Linked DNA regions of Homo sapiens: region 2 is linked to region 1. Evidence: promoter capture Hi-C in human tissues and cell types (Jung and others, 2019). All regions are on one chromosome and are shown on one strand. The core of a region is centred on a gene start or on the middle of the fragment in contact, and the rest is flanking DNA. Distances in the headings are between cores, read along the strand shown.

Evidence for each region. Contacts are between HindIII fragments. The study calls those that stand out against the background at their distance.
Region 2: a fragment that was not itself captured here is called in contact with the fragment with the promoter of SLC17A1 in region 1 in 1 of the 25 tissues and cell types used here (liver).

Annotation. Positions count from the first base shown.
Region 1 is chr6:25,829,115-25,834,354 of GRCh38, reverse strand. SLC17A1 (solute carrier family 17 member 1) reads left to right here and starts at 2,303. Exons shown (of 13, transcript NM_005074.5): 1 at 2,303-2,361; 2 at 3,748-3,831. The coding sequence starts at 3,798. The HindIII fragment of the contact is 3,299 bases long and covers 1,508-4,806 here.
Region 2 is chr6:25,874,164-25,879,403 of GRCh38, reverse strand. It overlaps SLC17A3 (solute carrier family 17 member 3), which reads left to right and starts at 5,161. Exons shown (of 13, transcript NM_001098486.2): 1 at 5,161-5,237. The HindIII fragment of the contact is 5,482 bases long and covers 1-5,240 here.

The sequences.
Region 1 (5,240 bases), core at 1,054-3,553:
GCTAAGAATATCTGAAACTACTGATTAATCTTACTACCACTAAAAGTGAGACAACCTGCTATTATGTGCCTCCCAACACGGAGCGATAGTACCCTGTATCATCCCATATCCCTGTGAATTGTTTTTGTGCTGAATCTAACCAAGCCTCTATATAAACCTCACGGTTTGCAGGATGTAAGGAAATACAAAAATATATCAAATAATCCTAAAAGCGAGCTATTAGCCAAACCAATTAGGAGAGACACTCTGCAAGGGATCCTGTTTTATTGTTGTTGTTTTTAAGTAATGGCAAATGTAAACTGGGAGAGGGGATTATTATAAAATAAGAGACATGACAGCCGTAACAATTAAGCGCCATTATGTGGATCCTATTCAAATCCTCACTTAAATCAAGCAAATATAAAGGACACAATTTTGAAGCAATTGGGAAAATTGTCATAAAGGTTGGATATTAGGTGATGTTAAGGGATTATTGTTTATTTACTAGATGTGCTGATACCATGTTAGTTATATCTTTTAAGGTCCTAATGAATTAGATAGCCATGCTGAATGTTTTATAGAAGAAATGACATAATGTCTGAGATCTGCTTTAAAATGCTACAAAAAACAACCATTGAATGTTGTTGATAACATTCAAAAGGCCAAATGAAAACTCAAATGGCCAAATATTGATAATTATTGAAGTGGGTGAATATGTACACAGTTATCTTAAACTGATCTACTTTTTTGTATGCTTAAACATTTCCATAATAAAATGATAAATTTAAAAATTTAATACATAAAACACAGAATCCAAAAGAAACAATTTCAAAGAATCTCACAGAGCAGCAGAAAGCTTTGGGGCCAGCAAACAGAAAGATGGTTCTCCTTCAGGTAATCAGTATCCAGAACTGGGATACTGATGGCAGATGGGAGTGTTATTATTTAACACATGGACTTTGAACAACTGCTGACCTAGGGGTTTCAATCACTAAAAGGGCTCCTCTTTCAGAAAATGCCAGAAATTGCCCAGCATGAAACAGGACAGTACAAACATTCTGCAACACACAGAAGAGGACCAGCAGAATCTGGACTTTTGAAAAAGAAAAAATCTAACTGAATAACAACATCAAAGTCTCCTGGGCAAAGGGGTTAAAGATTTACAACATTTCTTTAGAGGAAAAAAATAACTGGTTGAATTTACAGAGCATCTGCTATGTGCCAAACATTTAATGAGCACTTTAAAAGCATGATAAAAATTAAAAAAAAACTTGTTAAGCATGAAATAAATTACCTATAATGCAAAATCACTGATTTTAGTGCTTGGATATTTTTAAGTAATTAGTAGATTACCTTCAAAGAGTTCTAAGTTAAAAGTATTAGGGGCCAGGCACGACGGCTCACGCCTGTCATTCCAACACTTGGGAGGCCAAGGCACAAGGATTGCTTGTGGCAGGAAGTTTGATATCAACCTGGGCAACACAGCAAGACCCTGTCTCTACCAATTAGCTGGGTACAGTGTTGCATACCTGTAATCCCAGCTACTTGGGGCTGAAGTGGAAGGATCCCTTGAGCTCAGGAGTTCAAGTCTGCACTGAGCTATAATTGCACCATAGCACTCCAGCCTGGGTGACAGTGTGAGATCCTGTCTCTCTATGTTTTTTTTTTAATGTTTCTGGATATTGCTATAACCAAGTGGATGAACCAGAACCTACAGTAATTGCAGGAAGAGCCATGAGAGAAGCCACACCTTCCAGAGGACATGCCTCAATAAAATGTACCTCTTTCTGAGTATGCTGAATGTCAAACAGATGTACTGTTTAGAGAGGAGTGTGGAGGAGACAGGGTGAGGGAAGGAGGGAAAGCAAGGAAGGAGGGAGAAGGAAGAAGGGAAAGAGAAGGAAGAAAGAAAGAAAAAAGGAAGAAAAGGAGGAAGAAAGGAAGGAAGGGAATTAAGAGTAAAAATTTAATATGGCATTTATGGGGCATTTAGAAAGCCACAACATTCCTGTGAGAACAGCATTGTATACTCAGAGCCATCCTTAATAGAGAAATCTTGAGAGCACTTATGGCAGGCAAGCTCTACCTCCTGGGCAGGGAGAGAGACTAAGGGTGTCTGCTTATTATGCCATGAAATTACTGGCAGATTCCCAGTTTCTGGTCCACTGGATGATTTTGACCCACACACCTTCCCTGAAGCTTTAAGGAAAAGGTAACAGTAAAGTTAAAAATTAAGCTTTTAACTTCGACACAGTGATGTCAAAAGATTTGGTGAATGATTTATGGGGCTAAACTTGGTAATCCTAGAAAGTCAATATTGTGTAAAGTTGAGAGAAAAGTCTTCACAGCGGAAGAAGAAATCACTTTTTTGTCCCGAATCAGGTTAGTCTACGGGGCTCATTAAATGAAATGAGCAATCAGTTGATTCCCCAGAGGGCCGTAAGGGGGCATTCCCTGGCAAAGATATTATTGAAAGTACTTAGCAATAGGGGAAAATGTGGGGAGGGGTGGAATATGCCCTATCTTCTGAGGCTTTTCACAAGAGAAAAAAGAACATATTTTTAGCAATCAGTGTGAGGTTCACAGGGACACAAGGAAAGAGAAGTATGTGTTGTACAGTGTGTGATGCTTGTATAGCTGTGGTGTGCTGTGTCTGTAATGTGTGTGGCACACTGTGTACGCCTGGTGCATCTGTGCCCATCATTTATGTGTGTGTGTGGTTATGTGTGTGGTGTTTGTAGTTTGTACTTCCGTTTTGAGGATGCAGTATTGTAACGTATTTATATGTTTGGTTTGCTATGTGTCTGGAGTGTATGTGTGGAGAACATAAGGGGAGTTTGTACCATGTGTTTATGTTGTATGTATGTATGTGGTGCATACGTATGGGTGGTTTGTGTGTGCATTTGGTGTGTATGTATATATGTATTGAAATAAACAGCAGCCCCAGAAGAGGTTCCAATGTGTGATAATGATGGTTGACAAATTGCTTATTCAAAAATATTTTGCAAATCCAATCTCAGGACTTTGGTATCTTTGGGGCACTAGGTATCATATAATCTGATATGGTAAAATCCTGAGGTCTAACCTGACCAGCACATATTGGTGCTGAATTCTGATGGTAAGGGGTTGCCTGATAGGAGACTGCTCCATTCTGATTCTCCACTGAGCTTCCTGCCATAAAGCTTTGCATCAGTGGCTGCTCTATCCACGGAAACTGAAGATACGGACAGGGGCATGTGGACGTGTAACGAATGATTAGCCTCTGCTTGAGTTGATCTTATCAATAAGCAGATAGTATCTTCCAGCTCTATTAAGATACAGGGGGAAAAAAGGAATTTGTTTTACCTTTGCTTACTCCTTTTCTGACATTCTTCCTTTCTTTTCATACTGCCGAGTTTCTGACCTATAGCAATCTCCTTCTGCCTGAAAGGCTTCTTTTAGTGTTCCTTACAGGGCAGGTCTACTGGCAATGAATTCTTTCCATTTCTCACTTTGGAGGAATATTATCACGGATTTAGAATTCTGGATTGGCAGGGTTATTTGTTTGTTCTCTGTAGTTTTCAGGTCTTCCATATATTTTTAATCAACCAAAACAATCACAAAAGTAAAATAAATATCAAGGGAAGCACATAATGGAGGTGAATGGGCACTGCTGTGATGGAGCAAGTTATCCTTGGAAGCGGTTTTAAATCAGAGAGGAGTACTGGGTAGTGTTTGGTCAGTTGCCTCTCTACATTATGCTGACATCAACGTGTTTTGCACTCACAGTGGGTGGAGGCAAAACCCTTCAGCAAGAAGAGAAGCAACTTCAGCCGTGTATGCAAATGGATAACCGGTTGCCTCCCAAAAAAGGTAGCACTTTATTCTGTTCCATTAAACAGGTGTTCTTTTTCTTAAATATTACATCACAGATTCCATGTGGAAGAATATTTTTGTGATATACATATGGGGTCTTAAAAATGTTCAGAAAAGAAGGTAGAAGAAACCAGTCCTACTATGGTTTTCCACCAGAAAAGCCCTAAATAAAAAGATTCTACATACTCTGGTGGCTTACACTTTATTTTCATTTTTGCGCACTTGTCAGTTTATCATTTAGTGGAAAATATCAGAAAAAACTGGGCTATTTTGGTTCCATCTCCAAGAGAAAGAGAGATAGATCTGTAAGTGGAAGTAAGGCAGGATGAATGTTCTTGAGTCCCTGCATTCTTGGACATCAACAGCTGAATGTGTACTGAATATTTTTTGAGAGAAGCTGTTTATTTTAGGCAGGGTAGTGTAATGACAATAAAGGATTACTGCTATTGGTTTAGCGTTGTGTCAATGTCATAGGGGACAAAATCCCAGAAAAGGAGATGAGCGATAGATTGTATACTTTTTCAACTTATGAAAAAGTTACTGTATATTAAATTATGTATTTCTTCTTGTATCAACTTTGATACTTAATTATTTTGATTGTTTAAGTTGTCCATTTAATCTGCATTCAAAGTTTATATATATATGTTTTTTTCTATATATTATTCATTTCTGCCCTTATGCATTTAATTCCTTTTAGACTTTTTGGGTTTGTTCCTTTGCTCAGTTTCCAAGTGTTTAAATTCTTTCTTTTTTGATAAATATATTTACAGATGCACATTTTACTCTGTCCATGAGTTTGATATGCGGTATTCTTATTACTCAATCCCAAACACTTTAGAATTCCCCCTGTGGTCTTCTTTTTAACTTAAAACTTGTTTAGACATAATTCATGGACTTCCTGGAGCAATGTGGAGGAGAGAAATGAGTAAAACTCAAAAGCATACCCCTAAATGACTAAGACAATGAGCCCTTCTCTGACATGGTGACAATGACTTCCCTTTTACCATGTAGAGACTCCTGCAGGTGTGTTTACAAAGTTTCTGATAGCTTTCTAGATCCATTCACTTCCCTATGATACTGAGTTTAGGCAGCAAATCAAAGGAAGGGCTGGCTGATGATTAAATTTCTCAGGGGTATTCTTTTACCCCCTTCTATTCAGCTCTTAAGTTCATATGGCACAAAATTTCTTGGCAGTCCACTGACAAGATAAGGGGGCAATGTGTTCATCCTCCATTGAACCATGTAAATCTTTGACATCCAAGCATTTTAGGAGAGGGTCTCCTACTATACACTATCGCATCGCTAGGACCTTGGTATTTGATTCCTGTTGTCCCCATATCATGGAAGGCCAAAAATCCCAAGATCAAAAGTCCACAGTGAAACATCTGACTTCAAGGCCCAACTTA
Region 2 (5,240 bases), core at 1,313-3,812, 45 kb before region 1:
AACATTCACCCTCATCTGCTAAGACAAGTTCTCAGAATCAGAAAGTTCATTAACCTGAACTTCAGTAGTAAATAACATTTAAGTTTTGGAAAGGTATTCTTCTATTTGGCAATTCAACACCATCGCTTGTAACAAAAACCAATAGACAAGTACAACTCAACATCCTCAAGACAGAGCACCAAAATTAACAGAAAAACTAGAACCCCTCTCCAAACTAGAAGAATGTTAGTATAAATATTTAACATAAATAAATGAATAATATCAGAAATATATGCTGACATACTTAAAACAAAAATTAGATATGTGAAAAGGAAGGTTTTCTTAGAAATGACAAATATCCTTAGAATTAGGGAAGAAGGAAAGAAATAAGAAAGGAAGGGAAAGAGGAAGGAAAGAATAAGAAAAAAATGAAGCAGGGAAGAAGGAAGGAAAGGAGAGAAGGAGGGAAGGAGGGAGGAAGGAAGAAGGAAAGAAGGAAGGAAGGAAGGGAAGGAAGGTAGGCAGGTGATCTCAGGAATTTGGAAGAAAATTGATACAGGTGAAATTCACAGTAATGCCAAGATACAAAAGGAAGAATAATGAGAGGGAAATTTTATAGGAAACTGATGTTGAAAGTTGGTTTCAATGTTTGCGTAACAGATGAAATAGTCTGGAGGGTAAGAGAATGGACACAACAGCCAGACTTTCTGGGTGGTTGGATTCCTGACTCCGTAGCTTACTAGCAAGTTACTTAACCTCTCTGTAAACTGGCATAATAATAGTACCTACCATAGAAGTTTGCTATGAGAAGTAAAAGTGTTATTGTATGTAAAGTGCTTAGAATAGTGTTCAGCACGTATTTAGTGTTAAATAGGCCTTATTACAAGGAGTCTCTGAAAAGGGGGTGAGGGGCAGAGTAGAAGAATGATTACAAAGAAAGAGATAACCACCATCTTTATTTGAGGATATATTTAGTAAATTAAATTATATGGAAAATTATTTTGGAATATTGGTTGGAATGGCATATGGATTAGTCTGGAGAGACGAGATTTTTACATTTTTGAATGTTCCTGTTCATAAAAATGTTATGTCTCTTTATTTAGTTCGACTTCAATACCTTACAATAAAGCTTTACAATTTTCTGCGTAACGATCTTCTACATCTTTTATTAGATTTATTCCTAGGTTTTATATCCTTTTGTGGCTGTTACATTCTTTTATTGCCATTGTGAATTGTATCTCTTTTTATAATATCTTTTTTTTTGTTTTGGGCTGGTAATTAAAATGCAGTCAGTCTTTGAATATCACTTTTCCATCTGTCAAATTTGCCAAACTCACATTAGTTAAGTAATTTATGTACAGATTTTTTTTGTTTTCTTATGTAGACAATCATATCATCTGTTAATAATCATAGTTTTACTTGTTTTCTAATTGCTTCACATTTCTTTCTTGTGTTATTGTGCTAGTTAGGCCTTCCAGTGAATAGATGTAGCAAACACCTCTTTTATGTATCTGATTGTAACAGGAAGATTCACCTTCGGAATGTTTGTTGTAGGTTTTACAGATGCTGTTTATTAAATACAGGGAATTTTATTTTATTCATTGTTTCTAGGGAATGCTATCCCTTTACATTTCTTTTTGGAATGCATACAGTAACAATATTTTTTGACTGATGGCTGACTGCCTCCAACTTTTTAATTAAATTATATTTGATTATTTTGAATGAATTTGATTTTTAATTGCTTTATTTCAATCATGAATATTAATCATGACGTCTCAGAGGTGGTCATAGAAATAATAATGGTAATGATAATTATGACAGATGACCTTCATTGATTGATTTTCTGTTATATGCAAAGTATGGTGGATGGTTTCATTTTGTTTCATGATTTATTCCTAATTTTTTTCAATGATCTCCAAGTGAGACTCAACAAAGTAAAATACATTTACTCTAAGTCCCTGGTAGTAGGTGAAGTTGTCTTGATATGAATTCAGCATGGTATAATTTTGTAACTTGTGCTGGTTAAAGAATGCAACACTTTCTCACTTGATAATTATGACATCCTTTATGCACTACAGATATCAATTTTGTTTACTATTCTATCTGAAAGCATATAACACCTCAGCCCATAAGCACTCCTGATTTTTTTTTTGTGTATTCTCCTAGAGATTATACTTGTCACAATTGTTCTTTCTTCTTTTCCATAGCCATTGTCCTCAATATATGATTTTGCAGTTTTAGCTGGGCATTCCTGGCAAAATAGTTGCTGAAAGAAATGGCATCGAAACTGGAAAGTAGACTAGAAAGCAGACATGTGTAAGGAAAAAAGTAAGACGTGTTTTCAGTATGGCAATCTAGGACATAAGTTAATGCATTGTGTAGATAACAAAAAATGCACCATTTTGCTCAGCGATAGAAGACAAAATAATAGAGATGGAGTGTTCCACTAGTGTTCTAGATGGACTTCCAAGCCCATGACCAGATGATGTCAGCCTGATAACTACAGTGACCAGATTGACCCCATTTGTCATAGAGATGGTAAGGCAAAACAGGAGTCTGACTTGAACTTGGAGAAAAAAGGATTTGCCAGAACCATGAAGATGTAAGGTTCTGAGCAGATATAACATCACATATGGGTTCATTGTTTAGACCAGAGTGTGTGTGAAAAACCAGCCAAGCTCCAGTGAATGACCACTGCCATTTAGTCAAGTCTTCTGTTTTAAGACTTAGGCTCATTCAGTGTGTTTGCTTGACAGCTACCCCTGATTCATCAGAATCCCTGCTGACATTGTGAGCTTTGAGGGAAGGTCTGACTCTTAAAGGTGCTTCCTCTCCCTGGACCCATCCTGGGCTTCCTCTAGGAAGACTAGAGACAGGTTTCCTATGATCACAACAGGATTGTGCACTGGAGTCCTCTGAAATGTAACCCAGAATCAGAGCCTGCATCCTGCTGAGCTGTCATGTGACTGATTATTAACAACAATGTTCACAGTCTTATGAAACAAGTCTGAAGATAGCTGTTTTTTTTTTTTTTTTTGGTTGTTGTTTTGTTTTAGAGAGAGTCTTGCTGTGTCATCTAGGCTGGAGTGCACTGGCATGATCATAGCTCACTGTAACCTTGAACTCCTAGGCTCAAGGAATCCTCCTCATCAGCCTCCTGAGTAGTTAGGACTACAAATGCGTCCTCCATCTCCAGCCAATTTTCTAAAAAAAATTTGTAGAGAGGAGGTCTCACTGTTGCCCATGCTTGTCTCAAACTCCTGGCCTCAAGTAATCCTCTGGCCTTGGCCACCCAAAGCACTGGGATTACAGGCGTGAAGCACCACGCCTGGCTAAAGATAACTGTTAAAGGAGAAATGTGTACTCTATCTTTTCTGATGATCCCCATGGCTAAAACAAAGCAGTTTAAAAATAAATCTTATTCAAAAGGAAAATGTAAAATTCTTTTTTTAAAAGAGATGGATATTACAACCTAAGTCAAGGAAATATCTCAATTCATATTCAAGTGTTTAATCATAGAGGTGAAGAAAAGCTGAATTGTTATTCTTTCTACACAGAGACAATTTGGGTCTATTTCTACCAAGTCAAACCAAGTAGCATGTAAAGAACTCAGGAGCACTTTAAATAAAGTTAAACATTAAATTGCAAAACCAAGTAACGTTTTCTGACTTGGATAATTCAGGGTCAGAAACATTTCCTGTGATATGTGAATCCCAAAGTTGATCATTATTTATCCCAGGGTCCAGAGTCCTTCAGAAATGACTCAGGGAAAAATCTTTTACCTAGAAAGGTGAAATTGACACTACCCCCACACGATAACGGGCTTAAATTTTCCATACTTAAATTCTTAAAGTGCAGATGGAAGAAATCTGTTTTTTTTCTTTTATGTTATAAAGAATATAATAAAACTTACCTGAAAGCATTGTGAGGATGACATGTAATAAATGCGCAGTAAATGGTAGCTCTGACTCCCCAGGACCCGGGTTCCTCCTTCTGAATTCTTGATCTGTGATATATACTGCCAGGCTCCCACTTCTCAGCCAGGGTGTTGAGAGGTAGTTTACTCACTCTCCTCTCACAATACAGTTCAAATAGGTATAAAGAGTCAAACTTAGAATCTAAAGGAGATCTCCTCAGGGCCATAAAGTAAGAAGGGATTTAAAGTCAAAGTGATGAGTATGAGCTAAGGCCAGGAAAGCCATTAAAGCACAGAACAAGGTGTAAATTTCCATGGCTGACTCTAATGCTCATATAAAGAAAGGAGTCTGGATTATGAACCCAAGGCATTCAGAGAGCTGGAAATAAACTACAGAAAGCTAGGAGTCTGAAGGCTTTGCCTCATCTATGAGACAAGGACAAGCAGAACTATACACATTCTTGGAAAGCAGTGACAGTGCTTTTGACTTCCTGGGTGTTAGCGCAAGAGTTAACCACAAGAAACTGAAAGAGTTTGGCCTTCACTGTGCACATGTAGGTATGCCAAATTTATGCCACTTATTTTCCAAAGTGGTTACAGAATGGCCCATAAATGCTACATGATAGCATGTGTGCAAATTTAGAAATAATACAAAGCATTATTACATATAGTTTGTGAATACTCATATAAATAGTAAGAATAGAAAAAAATGGAGAAATCATATTATATTTATGCCAGGCTTGTTTGGTTTGGTTTGGTTTGGTTTGCTGAGAAAAGGACAAGGACCCAGGGAAAGAGAAAGCAACAGAGTGAATGAAGTTCAAGTTTACCCATAATATTACAATTCACATATTTCAAAGAAGAAAAAAATTAACAAAATTTCAATTAAGGGGGAAAATCAAAAATAGCAAAGTAAAAAACACAAAAATACTGAACTCTTTAATTATAATTTATCTCTTTTTAACCTTTTCAAAAAAGACTAAAGACATTGAAGACACCACAAAGCAAAGCAAAATAGCTATATGCAAGTGTCTGAACCAGAGGACACCTATGAGGTCCTGAGGAGACACTCACAAGGGGAAGGTGGAGAAGCTTACATCAGCCAAAAAGCAGAAAGAACTGCAGAGGGGATTGGGCTGGATTTCCGAATGCTTCTTCAAAGCCTATTTGGCAAGAAGCCCTTCTGAGTCAACTTTGTAGTTTGATGACTTTTATTAATGATTAGCAACTTAAGCCCTAGGGTGGCAAAGAATCCTCATCTCTCTGCTCCAAAAAGTCCAAGGGAGTAAGCTTGGAGGAAACGCTGGGTTCAACTTGAAGCCCTTCCACAGACATTAAGTCGGTA